2 separate regions of the Homo sapiens genome follow, and region 2 is linked to region 1. The links are contacts of gene promoters, found by promoter capture Hi-C in blood cells and fetal thymus (Javierre and others, 2016). All regions are on one chromosome and are shown on one strand. The core of a region is centred on a gene start or on the middle of the fragment in contact, and the rest is flanking DNA. Distances in the headings are between cores, read along the strand shown. Region 1 holds the start of OR13C5 (olfactory receptor family 13 subfamily C member 5). Region 2 overlaps GRIN3A (glutamate ionotropic receptor NMDA type subunit 3A).

Region 1 (6,157 bases), core at 1,174-3,673:
TCCTTGTAGCTCTAGTTTACCTTAGATCAGCATTCATTCTGTATGCAGGGCATGGCCTCCAGAATTTCCCCAGAACCTCCAAATTTCCATGACATTGGTCTGAGCAACAAAGTGTCTTCACATAAAGAAGACACTTAATGAACTATATATGGAAACCCTGGAGACTTAATCTTTAGAACTCAAGGTAGTTCATGGCTATGATAACTCAAGATAATATTAAATAATATATTTTCCCCCAGGTTTTCATAGATAACAGAACATCAGTTTCCCCAGGCCAGTGGAGAATGAAAACTATGGCTTTTAATGTTAGTCTTTTCAGAATCATGGCAGACAACACATCCTGACATCTTCAAACTACCCCAGTATTTAGGGACCGAGAATAACATCTCATTTTTAAAGATTTCATTTTACGTAGCTTTTAGTATAATAGAGGCTGTCTGTAAGAGCCTGAAAAGGCTAATTGCAAAAAGTATATCAAGGATGTCTTATAAAGCAATGGCATATACAAATCCATAGAACAAAAAGAAGTATATGTGCAAATGTATAGCTATGAGGCAATTTTAAGAGAACTGTCGAATCCCTAGCAATGATGGGGAATAAGGGATTATTTGAAATTTTCTATTTGTCTATAGATATTATCCCATTACATTTTAATGTTAACAATAAGTTATAGGCCAAGGTGTACAAGCTCAAAATAGACTCATCACTATATACCCCTCATCTCACAAAATACAAGCCAATAAACATAATTTTCTAATAAGAGAGCTAACATGTTCCAGCAAAAAATGTAGAGTTGTTTTGTTTTGAACCCTCATTCTTTTACTTGTTATTTAATGATCACATATCATTTTAGATGAGTTGGTTGCCAATCTCTCCAAAATAAAAAAGACAACCAAAGACGTAAAAGAACTATACACTGAAAACTATAAAACATTGATAAAAAAATTGAAGAAGACATAAGTAAATCGAAAGATATTACATGTTCATGGATTAGAAGAATTAATATTGTGAAATGTCCATATTACCTAAAGCAATCTACAGATTCAATGCAATCTGTATCAAAATTCCAATGTCATTTTTCATAAAAATTGAAACAACAATCCTAAAATTTACATGGAACTAGAAAAGACCCTGCCTGGGCAAAGCAATCTGAAGCAAAAACAAAGCTGAGAGCACCATATGCTGCAGTTTTAAAATATGTTATAAAGTTATTGTAATCAAAAGAGCATGGTACTCAGATAAAAATAGACATATCAACCAATGGAACAGAATAGAAACTTATTTCCAAACACTGAAATTTATTTATTTACTTCTTTTCATTATGTATCGCAATCAGAGAAGTGTATTTTGGAGCTTTAGAACTTCGAGAGATGAATGTGAAACAGCAACGAGAACCTATCTGTTTAACCTTGGTTTCTCTAATTGATTTCCATATTGTGATTATAAAATTACTCTCACCTTTCTCATTTACTTGTTAAAATTTTTTCTTCTCAGTAGGTGTTTTACTGCCTCCTTCACATCCTTGTTTCTAAGACTGTAGATTAAAGGATTCATCATGGGAGTCATCACCCTGTAGAATATGAATATAAGTTTGTCAGTGGCATCCAAGTCATCTGAATTAAGTGTCTCTTGAGACTTGGGCTTCATGTACATGAGGAAGATGGTCCCACAGAATGTTATCACCACAGTCAGACGAGCTGAGCAGGTAGAGGAAGGTTTGCTTCTCCCCTCCGAAGAGCTAATTTTGAAGATGCTCAAAATGATTAACGTGTAAGAGACAATAATTAATAACAAAGGTGTCAATAGGAACAATGTTGTGGTCACAAGCAGGATGAACTCATTGCCTGAGATGTCAGCACAGGCCAGTTTCATGACAGCTAGAATTTCACAGGTGAAATGATTGATGATGTTATTCCTGCAGAAAGGCAATTGTACCACAAACACTGTTTGTACTGCAGAATTGACAGCTCCTATGATCCAGGACCCAGCTGCCATGGGTACATAGGCATCCTTACTCATGATGATGGGATATCTCAGAGGGTTGCAGATAGCCACATAGCGGTCAAAGGCCATCACGCCCAGAAGCACACACTCTGTTGTCCCCATGGCCAAGCTGAGGAACATCTGCACTGCACAGCCAGAAAGGGAAATGGTCTTTCTTTCTGAAAGGAAGCTCACTAGCGTGGAGGGAATAGAGGTGGTGGTGTAGCAGATGTCCAAGAAGGAGAGGTTCCCCAGAAAGAAGTACATAGGGGTGTGAAGGTGAGGGTCCAAGATGCTGATTAAAATGAGAGTACCATTCCCCAGAAGGATGACCACATACATTATGAAGATGAGCACAAAAAAGAGTAACTCAAGTCTTGGGTGACCAGAAAGTCCCTTCAGAAAAAATTCCACCAGAATGGTGTGGTTTTCCCATTCCATTTTACTCCCTCTTTAGCTTGTAAGACAGAGCATGTTAAGACAAATATTTATCTTACTCTGATTACTTTCAAGCATGTGTCAATGAATATGTGCCATAATTCCCAAGGAAAAAGAAAAATAAAATGGGAAAAGACCAAAGAAAGAAGAGAGAGCATAAAGAAAAGTCTACAGAAAAGAGGGAATTATGAATGGAGAGAGGGAAGGGAATGAATGAATGAATGAATGAATGGAGAGAAGGAAGGAAAGATAAAAGTAACATGTTTCATGCTACAGCCACTTAATTCATTTAATATCATCACAGTTCTAGGAAAGGGGTATTAGTATCCATATTTTACAGATGAATAAATCAAAGCGGATATGTTAAGTAAACTTGACCAAAGGTACATACTATATAGCAGAGCTAAGATTCAAACCGAAATATTCCTGTTGAAGTCTGAACTTTTTGTCATATTTGTCATCACATAGTAAACTGAAGGTTATAATAGAAATGAGCATTGTATTATGTAAAACTGAACACTAAACTATTTTATTGGCTATAAATCACCACACAATAGATCAATGCTCTTGTCACTCCTTGAAATTATACTATGTTACGTATATTGTCTGTCTTTCCCAGTAGAATGTAAACTTCATAAGGGCAGGTACTTATTCTTGCTTATTTCCACAGCCCCTGTAGCTAGAATAGAACAGACACCGAGGTAAATGTTCAAAAACATTTGTTGGATGCACAGACAAAATCAAAGGCAAAACAATTGCTATATTTCTTACTCTGCGCCAACCCTCTATTATTTGTTTTCTCTGTGCATTACATAATGGAGTCTGAAAAGCAAGCCTATGAGGTAATACTGTTACTCTTAGTATCACCAAGCCTATTGTGTAGAGGGGAAAATAAGGCACAGAAAAGTTAAGTAATTTGCTTAAGGTCAATTTCATAAAGACAGATAAATGAAAGAGCAAGGACTTAAACCCAAGCAGTATGGCTTCAGAATTCGAGCTCTTAATACTCAAAACTTAATACTCAGTACTTAATAACTTAATGCTTAAAGAGAATTTGCAAAGAGAATTTGGCTCATGGGCTAGAATATCTTGCAATCTCACTAACAGTATTAATATTTCAAAAGAAATATCAGATAAAAATGTGATTGGTCAGTAAGGGGATTTCAATATGGTAATTTGATAGCAGTTGATTTTGATGCTTCATATTTTGCTAGAAAAGTACTCATTTCTATAACAAATGTTTTGTCACAGAGTTGCATTTGATCATTATAATTCTTGTGTCCTCCCTTACATGAAAATTTCTCATTTTCATTATGATGCCTCTTTGACTTTTTTTTTCCTTTATTCAACTCACAAGGGGTTTTCCTATATTCCAGGTCTTTAAAAAAAAAAAACAGCTTTAGGATAGATTTATTCTCTTGACTTTTTGCGTTTCATTAAGTTTCTATCTTCATAAATTTCTTGTTTATTCGGATCTATTTTTCTAATTTTCTGATTTCTAATTTCTATTTTCCAAATCTATTTTTCTAATTTCTTGAAATAAGAAGACAAATTCTTATTTCCTCCTTCTTACTCGTCTATTTCTTGCTCTAATGAAGGCACTTAGAGCACTTTTTGTTTTATTATAGACTTTGTATTTTATGGGAATTTTTTTACTGGTTTCTAGATAATTTTTTTGTTTGTAAAGTTCCTCTGAAATCCAAGCATCTTTCTTCATTATTTAGTGACTGAGCATTTTCATTCTATTTTTACTATTTATTTCCTATTTTATTTTATGTATTTATTTATTTATTTATTTATTTATTTATTTATTTATTTTTCTGAGACGGAGTCTCCCTCTGTCATTCAGGCTGGAGTGTAGTGGTGCGATCTCAGCTCACTACAGCCTCCACCTCCCAGATTCAAGTGATTCTCCTGTCTCAGCCTTCTGAGTAGCTGGGACTACAGGCATGTGCCACCACGCCTGGCTAATTTTTGTGTTTTTGGTAGAGACAGGGTTTCACCATGTTGGCCAGGCTGGTCTTGAACACCTGACCTCAAGTGATCTGCCCACCTCAGCCTCCCAAAGTGCTGGGGTTACAGGCATGAGCCACCGTGCCCGGCCCCATTTTATTTTAATATGAAAACATGACCTATAATTCTCTAGTTTGCACATTTCGTTGTATTTGACTATTTTACAATAAGCACATATTTCCTTTGGAATTTTAGATATATAAATAAATTAAAGGTATTTGTCATCCAAAAACAGCATAAAAAATTTCATAATTTCAAAGATAAAATTTTACTTACACACCATAAATTAGGAGCCCCTGTTTTTGTAAAGTGAGTGTTATCTTTACTAAAAAAAAAAAAATCTATTTTTTATAGTCTTTTCTGGAAGATTAGAGCTAATATCAAATTCCTCCCCTTCTCATATCTCAATTAATGTCAGGTATTCCCCTAATTTAAGATTTAATTCCTATCAATTGTGATTAAGCATCATTTTTGGACACAACATGTGATGGTGTCAAGGTTCTTTTATAAATAATTAAATTAATTTTCTTTTTTAAGTTATTTTCCGGAAATTTTATATACTTGCTATGAAAGTTGAGAAGCAGGTAATAGTTTCTTTGGTCATTATAGATATGCTGCCAAGAAATACTGGTGTTAGATGTCATGACAAGCAATGTGGAAAAGTAAACATGCTGTAGTATAAAGAATAACTAACTCAAGAAAGAATAGCCAGGTGTGTATGCTTGTCTTTAACTTGCATACTTTGAGGTTTGGACAAGATGTATTAACTTCCATAAGCTTTGTGGCCTCATCTATGAGATAGCGACACTATAGCCCAGATCACAGGATTTTAGAGAGATGATGTATGTGAATTAGCTGATAGCCAATATATTGCTACATTTTTAAGTGTTCATTTTAGAAGTCCCCAGGACCCTAAAAAGTTGACATAATCTCAAGCTTAGAATATTTGGAAATTGGTCAGGCATAAAAGTGTACGAAGATGATGAAATAATTTATTGGATTAAGAGCAATGTAATTTTGCCTTTTTTGCTGTATCTCTGCTCTTAACCAAATCATGAACCTGTCTTGGGACTTCAGCGGGATATAAAAGTATGTGCTTCGCTCCAGTTGCACCTCCTTCCATATAATTTTCCTATTCATGGATATAAATGTATATTGAATCATATTATAAATGTCATGCTCTAAATTGAGTGCAATGGGAGTAAAGATGGTAAGAATATAGAGAAATACTTACCTTTGTAGATTTTGCTATCTGGTAGAAAAATCACCAGGAACATGCACACACTACACATACACAAACTGAACACACACACACACTCACACATGCACACAGATACATGCCTGGTATATCAGATAAGTTTATCTTACCTTGTCTCCAAATTAGAAAAAAACAGGTTGCTAACAACAAAATCATCCTCCTTAAGCTTTTGAAATAAATTTTCTGAATGAAAACTCCTCTAGAGGCCCAAATATTAAAATAAAGCATTATGTCAGTATTATAATGATTGTGTATTTTGCCCAGCAAATTTGAACACATAAATATATCAAGACAGGTAACATGCCTGTATTTTCTTCAGATCTTGATTCTACAACCTGTGAGAGAAAAACTGTCCTAATATTCTCCTGTGAGGAGAAATGTGTGTTTTTAAATTTCTTCTTGCTTTAGTTAATTTTCCATCAAAAATTTATAAATCTGATATAAGACTATGGAGCTACCACAGTC
Region 2 (5,726 bases), core at 2,369-4,868, 3.0 Mb before region 1:
TATGTGCATCTTCCCCATATTATCAAGTGAAAACTTTCTTTCTAGTAAAAAACTGCTCAACTTGATACTCATTATTGGTCAGAGGAAGAAAAGAAGGAGTTATGAATATTCAATATCAAATATTTAAAATACACTCAGGTGATGCAGACAAAATGATAATTGCAGCTGCAAGTGACTTGAGTGGTAGCACATTCAGAAATGCAAGCAGAAGTCCAGTCTCATGCTGTCAAGGGCCATGTAAATGAATGCAAAAAGAATGCAAACAAACATATGTTTTGAGGTTGTTGTTTTTTCCCCCTTTATCCCATTGCTTCAGCTGCAGCTTCATTTGCTAGCTCATAGCCACACACTTCCAGAGACTCAAGGGCCAGGGAGAGAAGGCTGTCACAGGATTGATTGATTTGATTGGATTTTTTGAGACAGAGTCTCACTCTGAGGCTCATACTAGAGTGCAATGGCACAGTCTTGACTCACTGCAACCTCTGCCTCCCGGGTTCAAGCAATTCTCATGCCTCAGCCTCCCAAGTAGCTGGGATTACAGGCATGTGTTACCACACCCAGCTAATTTTTGTATTTTTAGTAGAGACAGGGTTTCACCATATTAGCCAGGCTTGAACTCTCCACCTTAGGTAATCTGCCCGCCTCAGCCTCCCAAATTGTTGGGAATGCAGGTGTGAGCCACTGCACCCGGCTAGTCCCAGGATTGAGCCAGGGACAAATCTCAGGCATTTATTGCTCCAGTTGGTCCTTCACAAACTTACTCTAGCCCACCCCATCTCACTTAGGCAACTCTTTAACTAGTAAGTAATCATTCAAAAAATTGCCTTGCTCATGTATTTCATTTTTCTAAAGGTTATTTATATTCATTATGTTTCTTTAGCATTTTATTGTTAATTTACATTAGTATATATTTACTACACTGTGAAGAAAAAACATAGTTTGTATCTGATACTGTACTCTGCATGTTGCATGGAGGAATACCAACAAATTATGCACTATACAACTAATGTTTTAAATGCTTTATGTTATGCAGAAATTCTTGGTAGATTGTCACATATCCATGCATTGTGCATTAGATATTAAATGTCTACAGGTGTCTAAGAGTGTTTTAGCGAATTTAGGGAAACTGCTTGAGATTTTTGGATGAAATAGGAATACTTTATTATTTTTTCCATTTGAAATAATGGAAAGGGCTTCCACCATCTATAAATTTACTAGCCAACACATTTCTAGGAATGGACCAAATTCAGATAAAAGGAGATGTTTGTACTATCACAGGTGTGGTCTCTGACCAGATCAGTAACATGTATAGGATAAGATTATAAACTTTGTTGTTGCCCAAACCCTGCTTTGTATTTTGTTCAGATGTCGTCACTTGAAACATCTGACAGCTGGCTCGAGTAGTGACTAGTTCTCAAGTCTCCAGCAAGAAATGCAGATAAAGTGTTTCACTCATCATTTGTTTTTGATGTTACTAATCAAGATCTATGCAGCTAATCCTTCCTTGTGCCCATTCCACACCTCCCAGCACATAGCAACCACCTGATTTCTCTGGTTTTCTAGAGTGTTGTCTATACTCATTGCTTCTAATTCCTTTTCTCCCATTCTCCCTTAGACCCTCTTCAATCAGACTTTTGTCCCCTCCCATCACCTGTCAAACAATTCCTGTAAAAGTAAAAAATGGCCTCCATATTGCCAAATCTAACGGTCAGTTTTCACCTTATTCATGTATCGGCAGCTTGGACGCCATTGATTACTCCATCTTCTTTGGTATAGTTTCTTAACTTTGTTTTTGTGATACTTCTTTCTCTTTGTTGTACCTTAGTCTCTTTTGCTTTTCTTCTTCATCTTTCTGACTGTAAACATAGGCATGCTTTCAGTTTTTCAGCTACACTCATGTTCTCATTCAGAGTCAGCTTTAAATACCACCCAGATGTCAATGACTCCCAAGAGTTGGGGGCTTTTCTGTCCTAACTTCCTACTCTGCCTCTTTACTTAGGTAATGAACGGACATTTCAAAGATAACACATTAAAAGCAAACTCCTAATTTTCCCTCTGAAACCTGCTGCTTACACAGTCTTTCTCATCACAATGAACCTCCATCCTTGCCATGACACAGGGAAAAAAACCTTAGAACCACCTTTGATTCCTGTCTTTCTCTAGCATCCCATTACCCTGTGTATCTGCAAATATGGTGGAACCGACCTTCAAAGTATATCCAGAATTCAACATCCCACCACCTCCACCAACCACCCTGATCCAAGCCACCATCCCCTCTCACCTCACCTAGATTATTGAGACAGCCTCCTAGTTGTTTTCCCTAACCCCTTCTGTCTTCTTCACAGCAGTGAGAATGACTGTCATGTCACTCCTGTGCTCAATGCCTGGTCATGGTTTTCTGTCTCTTGCGGAGTAAATTCAGAGTCCTTGCAATGGGCTATGAGGCCTCACAAGATCTATTTCCTCATATCCTTCTTCTCTCTCGCTGGTTGACTTTGCTCAGCCATTTGGGCTTCCTTATTGTTCCTTAAATCTATTGAGCAACTTGCCACTTGAGGGTATTTTCATTTTCTGTTCGTGCCTGTAAACTCTTCTGCCAGGAATCAATATTGCTCCTTCCCTCACTTTCTTTAGGTTTCTTCTCAAATGTCACCTATCCATGAAGTTTACCCTAATCACTGTGCTTAAAAAGGCAAATTCTTTTCCCCCTTCCATCCTCTTTCAGATACAATCTATCTCTCTTACTTTGCTTTATTTCTCTCTTGACATAGTATGTGTTTATTTGTTTATTGCCTATTTCCCCAGCAAAGTAGAATGTAAGCTACAGGAGGGCAGCACTTTTGTCCATTTTGCTCGATACATACTCTTGTTTAGAACAGTGCCCAGCACGGTGAATATTTTTTAAATGAATGAATGAAAGCATATGAAAACTAGGATTTTTTGTATAAAATAAATTTGCATAATTTCCCCCACCCCCGATCCCAAACAGTCTCATTATATCACAGAAGCTTCCTAGAACAGTTGTTTAAGAGAGAAGGGTGGAGATGGACATTCTCAATTAAAAGGAGAGGAAACAAGGCCCAGTTTTGCTAGCCTGACCTGATCATGCTAATATTCACCAATCTAGGGATCTACTGTTGAAACTGGGACAAAAAATTTTTTAAATTACTGAAGTAAAACACTGGAAACTGAATGCAAAAATTTCAGGAGGAATGTATTGATTTTGTTTTCTTAGGATCCTTTCTTTGGGGAACTGCCCTCTTCCTGCTTCATGTGGTTTTGGTGTATCTACCAATCACAGACTCCCTGCTCCCTGTTCACCAGGCAAAGCATGAGACTCAAGGCCAGTCAATGTGAATCTGAAACAGAAACACTGGATATCAAAGGTGTTTGGAGATGAGTCATTTCCAATGTCAGTGCCCCAAAGACATAGTCCCCTAGTTCCTGCACTAGCATCCTTGGAGTGCTGTGGTTCGAGGCTTCATCTGTCACTCTCTTTCTTACTTCAAAACATTGAGCTTTCCCGTTATTCTTTTGATAGGTTTTGCTTAAGTTTAAAAATCTGTTGCAGCCGGGCGCAGTGGCTCACGCCTGTAATCCTAACACTTTGGGAGGCCGAGACAAGTGGATCATCTGAGGTCAGGAGTTCGAGACCAGCCTGATCAACATGGTGAAACCCTGTCTCTACTAAAAATACAAAAATTAGTCAGGCATGGTGGCAGGTGCCTGTAGTTCCAGCTACTCGGGAGGCTGAGGCAGGAGAATTGCTTGAATCCGGGAGGCAGAGGCTGCAGTGAGCTGAAATTGCACCACTGCAATCCAGCCTGGGCAACAGAGCGAGACTCCATCTCAAAAAAAAAAAAAAAAAATCTGTTGCTTGCAACCAAATAATCTGATTCAATATATGTACTGTTTAAAGGATTAAGGTCCTCTAGCTCCGAGGTGTGAATATAACTTCTTTTGAGATAGACTGTATCCTGACGCAGATCTCAGAAATGAACGGGTGGAGCCTGTTTTAGGAAGTCTTCTCTGACAGGGTAAGGCTGTGTTGCTTTTGCCTGTCTCCAGCAGCCTAGTATATAGTAAGTTCAATAAAAAATAAAAAGCACATGTCTGAAAAGTAACTTAATTACATTTACTCTGACATTCCCTATTAAATATTTTTCCCCAGAGCAAAATGACTGCAAGAACCTGGGAAAATAATTGTATTTTTCAGTGACCTAATGCACTAAGCTTTGTATCATCTCCTCTCTGGATCTGCACAGCCAAATGCGATGTTCAAGAATTTTTTTCCTTAATAAGAGAGCTGGTGGCAGGGGGAGAAATAATGATTTTAATGAGAGGTAAGGAAAAGAAAAAGGCTGTGGTGCTTCTGAAATATGGATGACTCATAGATGCTTGGAAGCAGGACAAGGAAGAAGCAAATGCTATTTCTAATTTTGAAGACCTGGTATCTATTTTATTTATTTATTTATTTATTTATTGCCTCCTGATTATTTTGCCCAGAAGAATAGTTAGTTGCTCAAAAGAACTTGGCAGATTCATTGCTGTGTCTATACATATGGCCCCTTGTTGGGGAGAAGTAGGAGAATGATATCCACATGAAATGTGGGCTCCAGATGTACCAAAGACAGAGTTTCCCAGGTGAGAGAGTCTGGTTGAAGAGAGTTAGGTAAGATTGTGCGGTGCAATCATTTGGAATTAAAACATATATATTTAACAAGAATCATGAAGAGGGAGAAAAAAGATTCATTCAGAGAACCTGGAAGTTTCTCATTAACCAAGACATAGTGAAAGATCACACTTAACAAAAGAAACAGAAGAGGAGATAATTTATTAACACAAAATCCAGGGAGACACTGCATGAGCCTGAGTAGTGCTCACACATTTGGATAAACAAGGATTTTGACAGCACTCTCTGCATTCCTCTAACCTGGAAACTGCTTAGTGGCTCATCAACATGGCACTGCCCATGTTGCTGTGAAGATGCTTCTCTCTCCCTGTTTCTTGGGATTCTTGAGCCCCCATTTCTTTTAAGCTTGGGCGACCATCTTTTAGGGTTGAAATTGTACTTAATTTGCCACATTAGCTCTGTTGTGCAGTTTTTTGAAAAATTTATTATTAAAACGACTCAGAAAAATATTTTTAAAAACTAAATGTGAGATTACCCATAATCCTTGTACTATAAAACAATTACTTTCAATGCTCCATTTTCTCTTCTGAACAATGACCATATGCACACATATTCTTCAGAGTTCTAAACATAGGATATAACAAGTTTGCATTATGCTTTTAAAAGAACTTATTTTCTAACAAACTATTTTAATATTTCTAAAAATATTATTTTCTAAATATTATTTTATTTATTAACTTTAGTTGCCTAATACTATCACCTATTGTTTTTGTTATAATTGACTTGACTACTCCCAAACTGTGGTTGTTTAATTTTTTAAATATTATAATTTATGGTATATACGACAAATATTGCTACAATAAAAATTTTGTGTATAGTATTTTTTTTTCTTTTTTTGAGATGGCGTTTCACTGTGACTCCCAGGGCAGAATGTAGTGGAGCGATCTCAACTCACTGCAACCTCCGCCTTTCTGGTTCAAATGATTCTCCTGTTTCTGCCTCCCAAGTAGCTGGGACTAAAGGCATGTGCCACCACGCCTGGCTGATTTTTGTATTTTTTTAATAGAGATGGGGTTTCAGCATGTTGACCAGG

The links. The method cuts DNA at HindIII sites, captures the fragments that hold promoters and counts their contacts. A CHiCAGO score of 5 or more calls a contact.
Region 2: a fragment that was not itself captured here is called in contact with the fragment with the promoter of OR13C5 in region 1 in 1 of 17 cell types (endothelial precursors); the score reaches 5.5 in endothelial precursors.

Annotation. Positions count from the first base shown.
Region 1 is chr9:104,596,990-104,603,146 of GRCh38, forward strand. It overlaps OR13C5 (olfactory receptor family 13 subfamily C member 5), which reads right to left and starts at 2,424. Exons shown (of 1, transcript NM_001004482.1): 1 at 1,468-2,424. The coding sequence starts at 2,424. The coding sequence ends at 1,468. All of the region lies in intron 3 of LOC107987105 (a long non-coding RNA gene), which reads right to left. The HindIII fragment of the contact is 5,863 bases long and covers 1-5,209 here.
Region 2 is chr9:101,583,459-101,589,184 of GRCh38, forward strand. All of the region lies in intron 6 of GRIN3A (glutamate ionotropic receptor NMDA type subunit 3A), which reads right to left. Among named protein-coding and RNA genes, the nearest start is that of PPP3R2, 8.6 kb to the right of the region's middle. RefSeq lists an enhancer at 3,263-3,312. The HindIII fragment of the contact is 1,225 bases long and covers 3,007-4,231 here.